Linked DNA regions of Homo sapiens: all the other regions are linked to region 1. The links are contacts of gene promoters, found by promoter capture Hi-C in blood cells and fetal thymus (Javierre and others, 2016). All regions are on one chromosome and are shown on one strand. The core of a region is centred on a gene start or on the middle of the fragment in contact, and the rest is flanking DNA. Distances in the headings are between cores, read along the strand shown. Region 1 holds the start of GBP4 (guanylate binding protein 4). Region 2 has its middle 44 kb from the start of GBP6. Region 3 has its middle 27 kb from the start of GBP5.

Region 1 (3,477 bases), core at 523-3,022:
CAATGGCCACCACCACCACGGGCTGAGAAATCTTGTCAAGAATCTCTAATGCCTTTGAATTCACTGTCAGCTGCTCTTCCTGGTTTTCCACTAGACAAATGGGGGCCATCATGATGGATTCAGATTCTGGATAACCTGTAACCCAGAAAAAAATACTCAGTAGAATACAAGATCTTGAAGTCATCCCTAAGGGCTACCTAAGGCACATACATATTAGCTTTTTGCTTGTGGAATGGTATATAAAATTTCTACATTTTAATGGTATATAAATATATTTCTACGTTTAATGGTATATAAAATTTCTATGTATATAAAATTTGTACATTTCAAATGGAAAAATATTTAGTTTAGCATGTCAAAGACTAGTACAGATCTGTTATGTACATTATTTATGATTCTTACAAGAACGCTAAAAATGCCTTGTCAAGGTGATGCATAAAATAAACAGAATTAGAAAATCAAGGCACTGATGGCAGAATAATTCCACTCCTGGAATAAATAGGGGCAGGATGTTACAAAAAGGAGATGAGGAGTGGTTAGAAAAGGCTCCAGGCATTCCAGAAGAATTTGCTCTCTCATTAATTTAATAAAGAGTATTGCGTACCTACCATGTGCTAATTAACACCGTTCTAGATTCTCAGCAACAAGCAAGGAACATAATTGATACAAACTTCTGCCTCTTGGAGCTCTATTTGTTGTAACCCAGCGAGTTACAGAGAAACGCCACACTCTGAGACGAATTCAGGAGTCCTTTATTAGCCGGCGACCGAGAGACGGCTAGTGCTCAAAATTCTCTCGGCCCGAAGAAGGGGCTAGATTTTCTTCTATACTTTGGTTTAGAAAGGAGAGGTTGGGGGGAGGGGTCTAGTTAAAACAATCCTACAGAAGTAAAGTAGGCAAAAAGTTAAAAGGATAAATGGTTACAGGAAAGTAAACAGTACTAGGTGCAGGGGCTTTAATTCTATCACAAGGTGATAGAAGCGGGGCTTTGGGCTTTATCAACCAGACACAAACGCGGGGGGCTCTGGGTGCTGTTAACCGGGCGAATTCCTGGGAACTGCGGGTATGGCTTGCCACAGTACCTTATCAGTTAATTGCATTCTTGGATGTGCTGGGAGTCAGCTTGCACAAGTTAAGTCCCTGAGGAAGCGGGTGGGTAAGGGGCTGCAAGTGAAGGAGCCGAGATGCAGACTGTCTGGCTCTTTCAGCTAAGGGAGAGTCAACTCAGGTTAAAACAAGGTAGGGTATCACATATTCTAGTGGGGGACAGAAAATTAATAAAACAAACAAGCAAAAAATGTGTATATGTATACTAGATGATGGTATTTCGCAGGAGAAAATGCCACAGCTCTGGGAGGAAGCCCGAGGAGGAGCAGCGCATCCTGGAGACACCGGTGCGCCTCTGGTCGCCGCCTGTGGACCGTCTAGAGACGCTGGGCCACACGGAGCAAAGCACTCAGGGGTTCAAGCAGCATCAGACTTCCCCGCGAGGTTCCTCCACTGCCTTTGTCACCCGCCAGTGTGAAGTCTCCAACCCTCCCCGTGTGCAGTCTGCGCTTGGGAATTTGTTGTTGTTTGTTATAACCCAAATATACTTGAAAGGTAAAGCTTAAGAGCAAACTTACCTGGTGTGGGCACTGCAGCGTGAAGAGTTCTCTCACCCATTGCTCTGTCCTCCTGCGCCTGGATCCTCGAGAAACGGACTGTTCTTAGAAGCTGAAAGTCCAGCCGGATTTACAGACATCCAAGTAAGAGTCTGTGAGAACCGAAATTGAAAGGACATGCACTTTGTGGGGAGTTGACTGTTGGGGATTTTCCTGTTTATCAAGACAGGAAACTAAAGGAGCTTGAAAGTGCTGGTTCCTCCACACCAGACTCCTGAAACTCAGGTTTGTTTGTCCCTCTTCCACCCTTAGCTTAGGTATCTTTCGCCTCCAAAATGAATATAGAGCAGCAGACATGAATGTTGTTTCATCTACCTGTCTCTCAGGGGTAATTTTGTCAGGGAAGAAATTTGAGTTTTTGTTTGCTTTTATTTTTTTTTACATGCTTATATGTTTCTGTTTCTCATCTCTTTTCTTTATTTTTTCATTAACCATAAAATATGTGTGTGTTTGTGTGTGTGTCTATGGATATCTATGTATCCTCTAACGTTGTTGCCCAGAGGTGCGGTGGTGGCAAGTAAATACTTCTCTTTCAAAACACAAACATCTCATTGAAACTGGATCTTTTGGAGGACAGGAGGATGATTGGACCATAAAAAGCATAATTTATAATTAGGAGTCTTACCCAGGCTACCAGAAAAATGGACTCAGTTCCTAAAATGACTAGCCAGTTTGTTAACAGAGTTTGGGAAATCTATCTGAAATAAATGGGTAATGATTCCCCATTTGTGCCTATCCCTTAGATCTTCCTATTTGTTTAGTAATGTCTGATTAAACATTTGCAAATTAATAAGTACAAAATTTTAGGCACTTAATCAGGTAAAATTACTGGTGCCGATTTTGATTCAAAACTTAACATTTATTTCCTATAAGCAATATTGAAAGTGAAAATAAAGCTAAGTCAAGTTTTAAATAGGACCAGTAATAAGAAATCAGGTGCTTTTTTCTCTTACCATTTTTTAATGTCAGGAAGTCCCTCTCTCTTAAAAAAAAAAAAAAAGAAGAAGAAGAAAAAGTACAGGGATGACTGAATCCAGGTAAATGTGTTTGAAACACCTGAATTTCACCAGTGGCACCCCTTTCCAGATAATCCAATGTTACTGACTTCAGATAATCATGGAAATGTTAATCAAGAAGAAATTTAGGCTGGGTGTGGTGGCTCACTCCTGCAATCCAACCATTTTGGGAGGCCAAGGTGGGCAGATCACTTGAGTCCAGGAATTGGAAACCAGCCTGGGCAATATGGGGAAACCCCATCTCTACAAATAATAATAATAATAAATTAGCTGGGCATAATGGCATGTGCCTGTTATAATAGTCCTAGTTACCTGGGAGTCTGAGGTGGGAGGATGACCTGAGCCCAGGAGGTCAAGGCTGCAATGAGCCATGGTGGTCCCACTGCACTCCAACCTGGGCAACAGAGTGAGATACTGTCTCAAAAAAAATTGTTAATTCACAGTTGTATGTATAATGATTGCACATAGCAATATGTCTATGCACATAGAAAATATACATAGCAATATGTCTGTGTTACACAGATAAAAGTCTATAAGTGTTCCCCCAACCACTACCTCCTTAAAATTAGTACTTCTAGCTCAGGTGATTTTTTTAAAATGTCTTTCTGAATTATATGAATTTTTAAAGACTTTTTTTATAATCACAGATATGCACACACATACTCATAAAAAGGAAATAACTTTTATTTTGATAAAAAGACTCTGAACATTTTTTGAATATTTTTCCATATCAGATTTTGAGCTTCTTATTTATACATTTTTTGAATATTTAAAGTGCAATGTCTATATGTTTTTGT
Region 2 (3,477 bases), core at 509-3,008, 120 kb after region 1:
CATACTTCAGGATATTATCCAGGAGAACTTCCCCAACCTAGCAAGACAAGTCAACATTCAAATTCAGGAAATACAGAGAACTTCACTAAGATACTCCTTGAGAAGAGTAACCCCAAGACACATAATCATCAGATTCTCCAAGGTTGAAATGAAGGAAAAATGTTGAGGGCTGCTAGAGAGAAAGGTCAGGTTACCTACAAAAGGAAGCTCATCAGACTAATAGCAGATCTCTCTGCAGAAACCCTACAAGCCCGAAGACAGTGGGGGTCAATATTCAACATTCTTAAATAGAAGAATTTTCAACCCAGAATTTCATATCCAGCCAAACTAAGCTTCATAAGCAAAGGAGAAATAAAATTCTTTACAGACAAGCAAATGCTGAGGGATTTTGTCACCACCAGGCCTGCCTTACAAGAGCTCCTGAAGGAAGCACTAAATATGGAAAGGAAAAACTGATACCAGCCACACCAAAAACAGACCAAAATATAAAGACCAATGACACTAGGAAGAAACTGCATCAACAAATGTGCAAAATAACTAGCTAGCATCATGATGACAGGATCAAATTCACACATAACAATGTTAACCTTAAATGTAAATGGGCCAAATGACCCAATTAAAAGACACAGACTGACAAATTGAATAAAAAGTCAAGATCCATTGGTGTGCTGTATTCAGAAGACCCATCTCATGTGCAGTCACACATAGGCTCAAAATAAAGGAATGAAGGAATATTTACCAAGCAAATGGAAATAAAAGAAAAAAAAAGCAGGGGTTGCAATGACAGTCATGATGAATGATCTTTCAAATTTGATGTTGAATTTGCTTTGCTGGTATTTTGTTGAGGATATTTGTATCAATATTAACCAGAGATATTAGCCTGTTGTTTTCTTTTTTTGATGTTTCTTTGCTTTTGGCATCAGGGTAATACCGGCCTTGTAGAATAAGTTTCATAGTATTCCCTCTCCTTCTTTTTTGGGGGAATAGTTTGAGTTGGATTGGTATTCTTTTTTAAATGTCTGGTAGAGTTCAGCATTGAGACCATTGGGTCCTGGGCTTTTCTTTGCTGGGAGACTTTTTATTATGGCTTTGATGTCATTACTTTTTATTGCTCTATTTAGGCTTCAGATTTCTTAATGGTTCAATCTTGGTAGGTTGTGTATGTCTAGGAATTTATCCACTTCTTTTAGGTTTTCCAATTTGTGGACATACAGTTGTTCATAGTAGTCCAGTGATTCTTTACATTTCTGCAGTATAAGTTGTAATGTCTCCTTTTTCATCTCTGATTTTATTTATTTGGGTCTTCTGTCTTTATCAGTTAGTCTGGCTAAAAGTTTGCCAATTTTCATTATCTTTTCAAAAAACCAACTTTTCTTTTTGATGACATTTAGTATTGCTTTTCTCATTTCAATTTCTTTTTTTTTCCTGCTCAGATCATTATTATGTCTTTTCTTCTACTAATGTTAGGTTTGGTTTGCTCTTGCTTTTCTAGTTCCTTAAGATGCATCATTAGATTATTTGAAGTATTGCTCCCTCTTTGTTGTAGGTGCTTATTGCTATAAACTTTCCTCTTAGTACCACTTTTGCTTATCCCATAAGTTTTGGTATGTTTTCTTTCCATTTGCATTTGTTTCAGGAATTCTTAAATTTGATTCTTGTTTTTTGACCCACTGGTCATTCAGGAGCAAATTGATTAATTTCCAAATGTTTGTGTTCCTTTTAAGTTTTCTCATATGCTTGATTTCTAGTTTTATTCCATTGTGGTCAGAGAAGATACTTGATATGTGTCAAGTATCATATTTACCTTTTTTGTATTTTTCAGACTGATTTTGTGGCTTAAAGTATAGTCTATACTTGAGGATGATCTATTTCCTGAGCAGAAGAACGTGTATTTTTCAACCCTTGGATGAAATAATCTGTAAATATCTATTAGGTCTTTTGGTCTATAGTATAGATTAGGTCTGATATTTTCTTTGTAATTTTTGTTTGGCTGATCTGTCCAATGCTGAAGGTGAGGTGTTGAAATCTCCAGCTGTTATTATACTGTGGTCTGTCTCTCTCTTTTGAACTAATAATATTTGCTTTATATATCTAGATGCTCCAGTATTGGGTGCATATATATTTACAATGGTTATATCCTCTTGCTATATTAATCCCTTTTACTCGTTACATAGTGACATTCTTTGTCTTTTTTATAGTTTTTATCTTGAAATGCTTTTATCTGATATAAGTATAGCTACTCCTGCTCTTTTTTTGGTTTCCATTGGCATGGAATGTCTTTTTCCTTCTTCTTATTTTCAGTTTGTGTGTGTCTTTATAGGTGAAGTGTGTTTCTTGTAGGCAACAGATCACTGGATTCTGTTTTTTTAATCCATTCGGCCTCTCTGTGTCTTTTGATTGGAGAGTATAGTCCATTTGCATTCAATGTTATTGTTGCTAAATAACAACTTACTCCTGCCATTTGGTTTTGTTTTCTGGTTGTTTGTGGTCTTCTCTTTCTTCTCTTCTTCCTTCATGTCTTTCTTTTTGTGAAAGTGATTTTCTTGTTGGTATGTTTTAAGTTCTTGCTCTATACATTTTTTGTGTATCTGTTGTAGGTTTTTTGATTTGTGGTTACCACAAGGCTTGCAACTAATATCTTGTAACTCATTATTTTACACTGATGACAGTTAAACTCTAATTGCTAAAATCTACAAAAAAAAACTGACAAGCAAAGAGAAAACTAATAACATTCAACACTTTAACTTCATCCTCTCTGCTTTTCAACTATTCGTTGTTTCTATTTATATCTTATTATACTATGTCTTAAAAAGTTGTTGTGGTTATTATTTTCGATAAATTTGTCTTTTACTCTTCCTATGCAAGGTATGAGTAGTTTACATACCACAATTACAGTGTCATATTATTTTATATTTGTCGGTATACTCACTGTTACCAGTGAATTTTATGTACTCAGATGATTTTTTTTTTGCTCATTAACATGCTTTCCTTTCAGATTGAAGTACTCTCTTTAGCATTTCTTTTAGGACAGGTCTTATGTTGATGAACTACCTCAGCTTTTGTTTGCTGGAAAAGTCTTTACTTTTCCTCTATGTTTGAAGGATATTTTCACTGGTATGATATTCTAGGATAAAAGATTTTTTTTTAGCAGTTTAAATATATTATACCACTTACTCCTGGCTAGTAAGCTTTCCACTGAGTAATATGTGCTAGACATATTGAAGCTCCTTTATATGTTTTTTTTTTTCTTTTCTCTTTTTGCTTTTAGTATGCCTTATTTATCCTTGACCTTTGGGAGTTTGATTATTAAACATATTGAGGTAGTCTTATTTGTGTTAAATCTGCCTGGTCTCCTATAATCTTCTTGTTCTTGAATATTGTTATCTTTCCCTAGGTTTGGTAATGTCTATTTTTATCCCTATGAATAAGATTTCTAACTCAGCCTCTCTTTACCTCCTCATTAAGGCCAATAACATT
Region 3 (3,477 bases), core at 667-3,166, 100 kb after region 1:
CCTATGAATGATAGGTAATCTTATTGCCTATAAAGTGGCCACTAGCTATTATTCTAAAATTAAGGTAACAGAGCCAACTACTAAGACAAAGTATCATGAAATGCTTGTCATACTAGAAGGATGCTATATGAAAGCTTTGAAATGAGCCAGGTAAGGCATCTGCAGGACTTGTCTGTGAGAACATCACTCTGTAGGGCCAGTGTGTTCTCACTCTGAGTCAGAGGTGTTTCTGCATTTTCCAAATAATGAAACCATTCCACTGTTGATGATATTCACATAAGTCACTACCAGAATCCCCAGCCCTGAAAGAGGCAGGAAATTTGGGACATCAATGGGATTCAAATATTGGGACTACAGTTCTAAAATCACAAGCAAACTCTACACAGTGTGAATACCGTCATAAGTCCTATCTTTTCTTACTAAATTCACCTTTATCTTCCTATTCACTCTTGTGTGTTTCTCAGGTCACTGTATTTAAACAATTAATTATTTTTTTCTTTAGTTAATATGCTTGAGATATCCTGGAAAAACAATTTCCTGGTGAAGCATATTACAAACAAACTAGACTAGAGAGGTGAATACGTAGGCAGGGTAAATTAGATTATTTGTCCTGTTAAAATTCCACTTATGAATTATTCGAAATTTAGTTTGAATTAAGATATATCCATATCCATATTTCACATTCTTAGTGAAGAGGGCACTTATCATATCCAACATCTCTTCTTGGAAATTATGGTAGCCTTCATGTTATGTTTACATAATCTTGCTATAAAAATAGAGATATAGAGAACCATTTAAATATATTGAGAGTCAAGTATTTGCTTGTAGACCCATGGAATAATTGTACTGTTAACACTCAACTGTATGAAATGAAACTTTTATTTTGAATGTAAATGGAGAGCTCCATATGTATAGAACACATATGACCGGGCACAGTGGCTCACACCTGTAATCCCAGCACTTTAGGAGGCCGAGGCGAGTGGATTGCCTGAGCCCAGGAGTTCGAGACCAGCGTGGGCAACATGGCAAAACAAAGTCTCTACTAAAAATATAAAAATTAGCCAGGCTTGGTGGCGCATGCCTGTAATCCCAGCTACTCAGTAGGCTGAGGCAGGAGAATCACTTGAATCCGGGAGACAGAGGCTGCAGTGAGCTGACAATAGAGTGGAAAAAAAAAAAAGAAAGGAAGAAAACCACATATATGGCAGAATATCACCACGGGTGAATTTTAATTTATTAATTTATTTTATTTCACTTTTAGTTGTATGACTTGTCTTAGTCTATTCTGACTGCTCCAACAAAATACCTTAGAGTGGATAAATTATAAACAATGAGTGTACTTGCTCCACAGCACTGCAGGTGACTGTGCTCAGTACTAACTAGTTCTCCGTAGCTGCCAACTCACCCTTGCTCTGTTTCCTCCCTCTAAGGTTTTGCTTCTAATTTATAAACACTGAAAACAAACTAAGAATGTTAATCATTCCCAGAAAGGAAATGGAGTGAAAACTGAAGCTGAAAGTAAAATTAGCTCGTGGGGTTTTTAAATATTTAGAAAAGGCATGCTGAGTTAATATCTAGAACATGACAAAGTATAGATGCAATGAAGGTTACAAAATTCCAGTAACTATTTACATTAGCAAAGACTTGGAACCAACCTAAATGCCCATCAATGATAGACTGGATAAAGAAAATGTGGCATATATACACCATGGAATACTATGCAGCCATAGAAAGAATGAGATCATGTCCTTTGCAGGGATGTGGATGAAGCTGGAGACCATCATTCTCAGCAAACTAAAACAGGAACAGAAAACCAAACATCACATGTTCTCACTCATAAGTGGGAGTTGAACAGTGAGAATACACGGACACAGGGAGGGGAAAAACACACACTGGCACCTGGCACCTATCAGGGGGTGGGGGACAAGAGGAGGGAGAGCATTAGGACAAATACCTAATGCATGCAGGGCTTAAAACCTACATGACAGGTTGATAGGTGCAGCAAACCACCATGGCACATGTATACCTATGTAACAAACTTGCATATTCTGCACATGTATCCTGGAACTTAAAGTAAAAATATATACATACAAGTATATAGAAAATTCCAGTAACTGCAGTTACAACTTAGTACATGTTGCCTGACTAGCTTTCTTGTTATTACCCCATCTTGCCATTAGCAGATGAGTACGGTGTATTTTAGTGGGAATTTTGCTGTGTTTATATTTTTAGACTTCATATAGATTCCTGAAGGTGTAGATTAATGTTTTTAATCAAATTCTGGGAGTTATGGTCATTTAATTATTTTTATGTGTTATTGAACTTCTCAATGCCAGAGTTTCTGTTTTTTATAACTTCTATCTCCTTATTGAAATTATTATATCATGAGTCAATGTCATCATATTTTGCTTTGATTCTTTGAACAATGTATTAACGTTAATTACTTGGTATCTTTGTTCTTTAGTTTCTTTGATGTCTTGCCTAGACTAAGTCTCTACAGTCTGAGGTCCTCCTATGTGCAGCAGCTGGTGGCTCTGTTCAGTTATACTTTTTTTGAGATTTTTAAGATTTTATTTATAGTAGACACACAATAATTGCAGATGTTTTGAAGATACAGTGTGATGTTTCAATGCATGTATGCATTATATAATGATAAAATCAGGGTAGTTATGTCAATCACCTCAAACCTTTATCATTTCTTTGTGATGATAACTTTCAAAGATCCTTTATTCTAGCTATCTTGAAATATACAACACATTGTTATTAGCTACAGTCACCCTACTGTGTAATCGAACATGTAAGTTATTCTTCCTAACTGTAACTTTATACCCATTGACCAACTTCTTGCCATCCTCCGCACCTCTCCCCACTTTCCCATGCTCTGGTAACCACTACTCTCTACTTTTATGAGATCAACTCTCTTAGATTCCACATATGAGTGAAATCATGCAGTATTTGCCTCTCTGGGCCTGGCTTATTTCACTCAACACAACATCCGCCAGTTTGATCCATGTTGCCACAAATAAAGGATTTCATTCTTTTTTTAAGGCTGACTAGTGTTCCATTGTGTATATGTACCACATTTTCTTTATCCATTTATCCATCCATAGACACTTAGGTTAATTCTGTATCTTCGTTATTGTGAATAGTGCTGCATTAAACATTAAAGAGCAGATATCTCTACAATATGCTGATTTTAATTCTTTTGGATATATATACACAATAGTGGAATTTTGGACTCTATGACACTCTATTTTTAATTTTCTGTAGAACTTCCATACTGTTTTCTATCATGTCTATGCTAAATTTCCTTCCCACTAACTGTGTGAATAGTGTGTAAGAGTTCTCCATTCTCTGCATCCTTGCCAGTATTTTTTTGTTGTTGTCATTTCGATAATAGCCATTCTAACTGGGGTGAGGTAGAGTGTGTGGAATTGGTGGGTTCTTGGTCTTGCCGACTTCAAGAACAAAGCTGCG

The links. The method cuts DNA at HindIII sites, captures the fragments that hold promoters and counts their contacts. A CHiCAGO score of 5 or more calls a contact.
Region 2: a contact is called between a fragment that was not itself captured here and the fragment with the promoter of GBP4 in region 1, in 2 of 17 cell types (activated CD4 T cells and non-activated CD4 T cells). The highest score is 8.0, in activated CD4 T cells.
Region 3: a fragment that was not itself captured here is called in contact with the fragment with the promoter of GBP4 in region 1 in 2 of 17 cell types (activated CD4 T cells and non-activated CD4 T cells); the score reaches 7.0 in activated CD4 T cells.

Annotation. Positions count from the first base shown.
Region 1 is chr1:89,197,170-89,200,646 of GRCh38, forward strand. GBP4 (guanylate binding protein 4) reads right to left here and starts at 1,773. Exons shown (of 11, transcript NM_052941.5): 1 at 1,626-1,773; 2 at 1-135. The coding sequence starts at 1,665. It overlaps LOC107985076 (a long non-coding RNA gene), which reads left to right and starts at 1,178. Exons shown (of 3, transcript XR_002958332.2): 1 at 1,178-1,239; 2 at 1,334-1,889. RefSeq lists a silencer at 1,577-1,871. The HindIII fragment of the contact is 3,654 bases long and covers 1,607-3,477 here.
Region 2 is chr1:89,318,177-89,321,653 of GRCh38, forward strand. No RefSeq gene overlaps it. Among named protein-coding and RNA genes, the nearest start is that of GBP6, 44 kb to the right of the region's middle. The HindIII fragment of the contact is 2,856 bases long and covers 331-3,186 here.
Region 3 is chr1:89,298,466-89,301,942 of GRCh38, forward strand. It overlaps the pseudogene LOC100421401. Among named protein-coding and RNA genes, the nearest start is that of GBP5, 27 kb to the left of the region's middle. The HindIII fragment of the contact is 3,568 bases long and covers 133-3,477 here.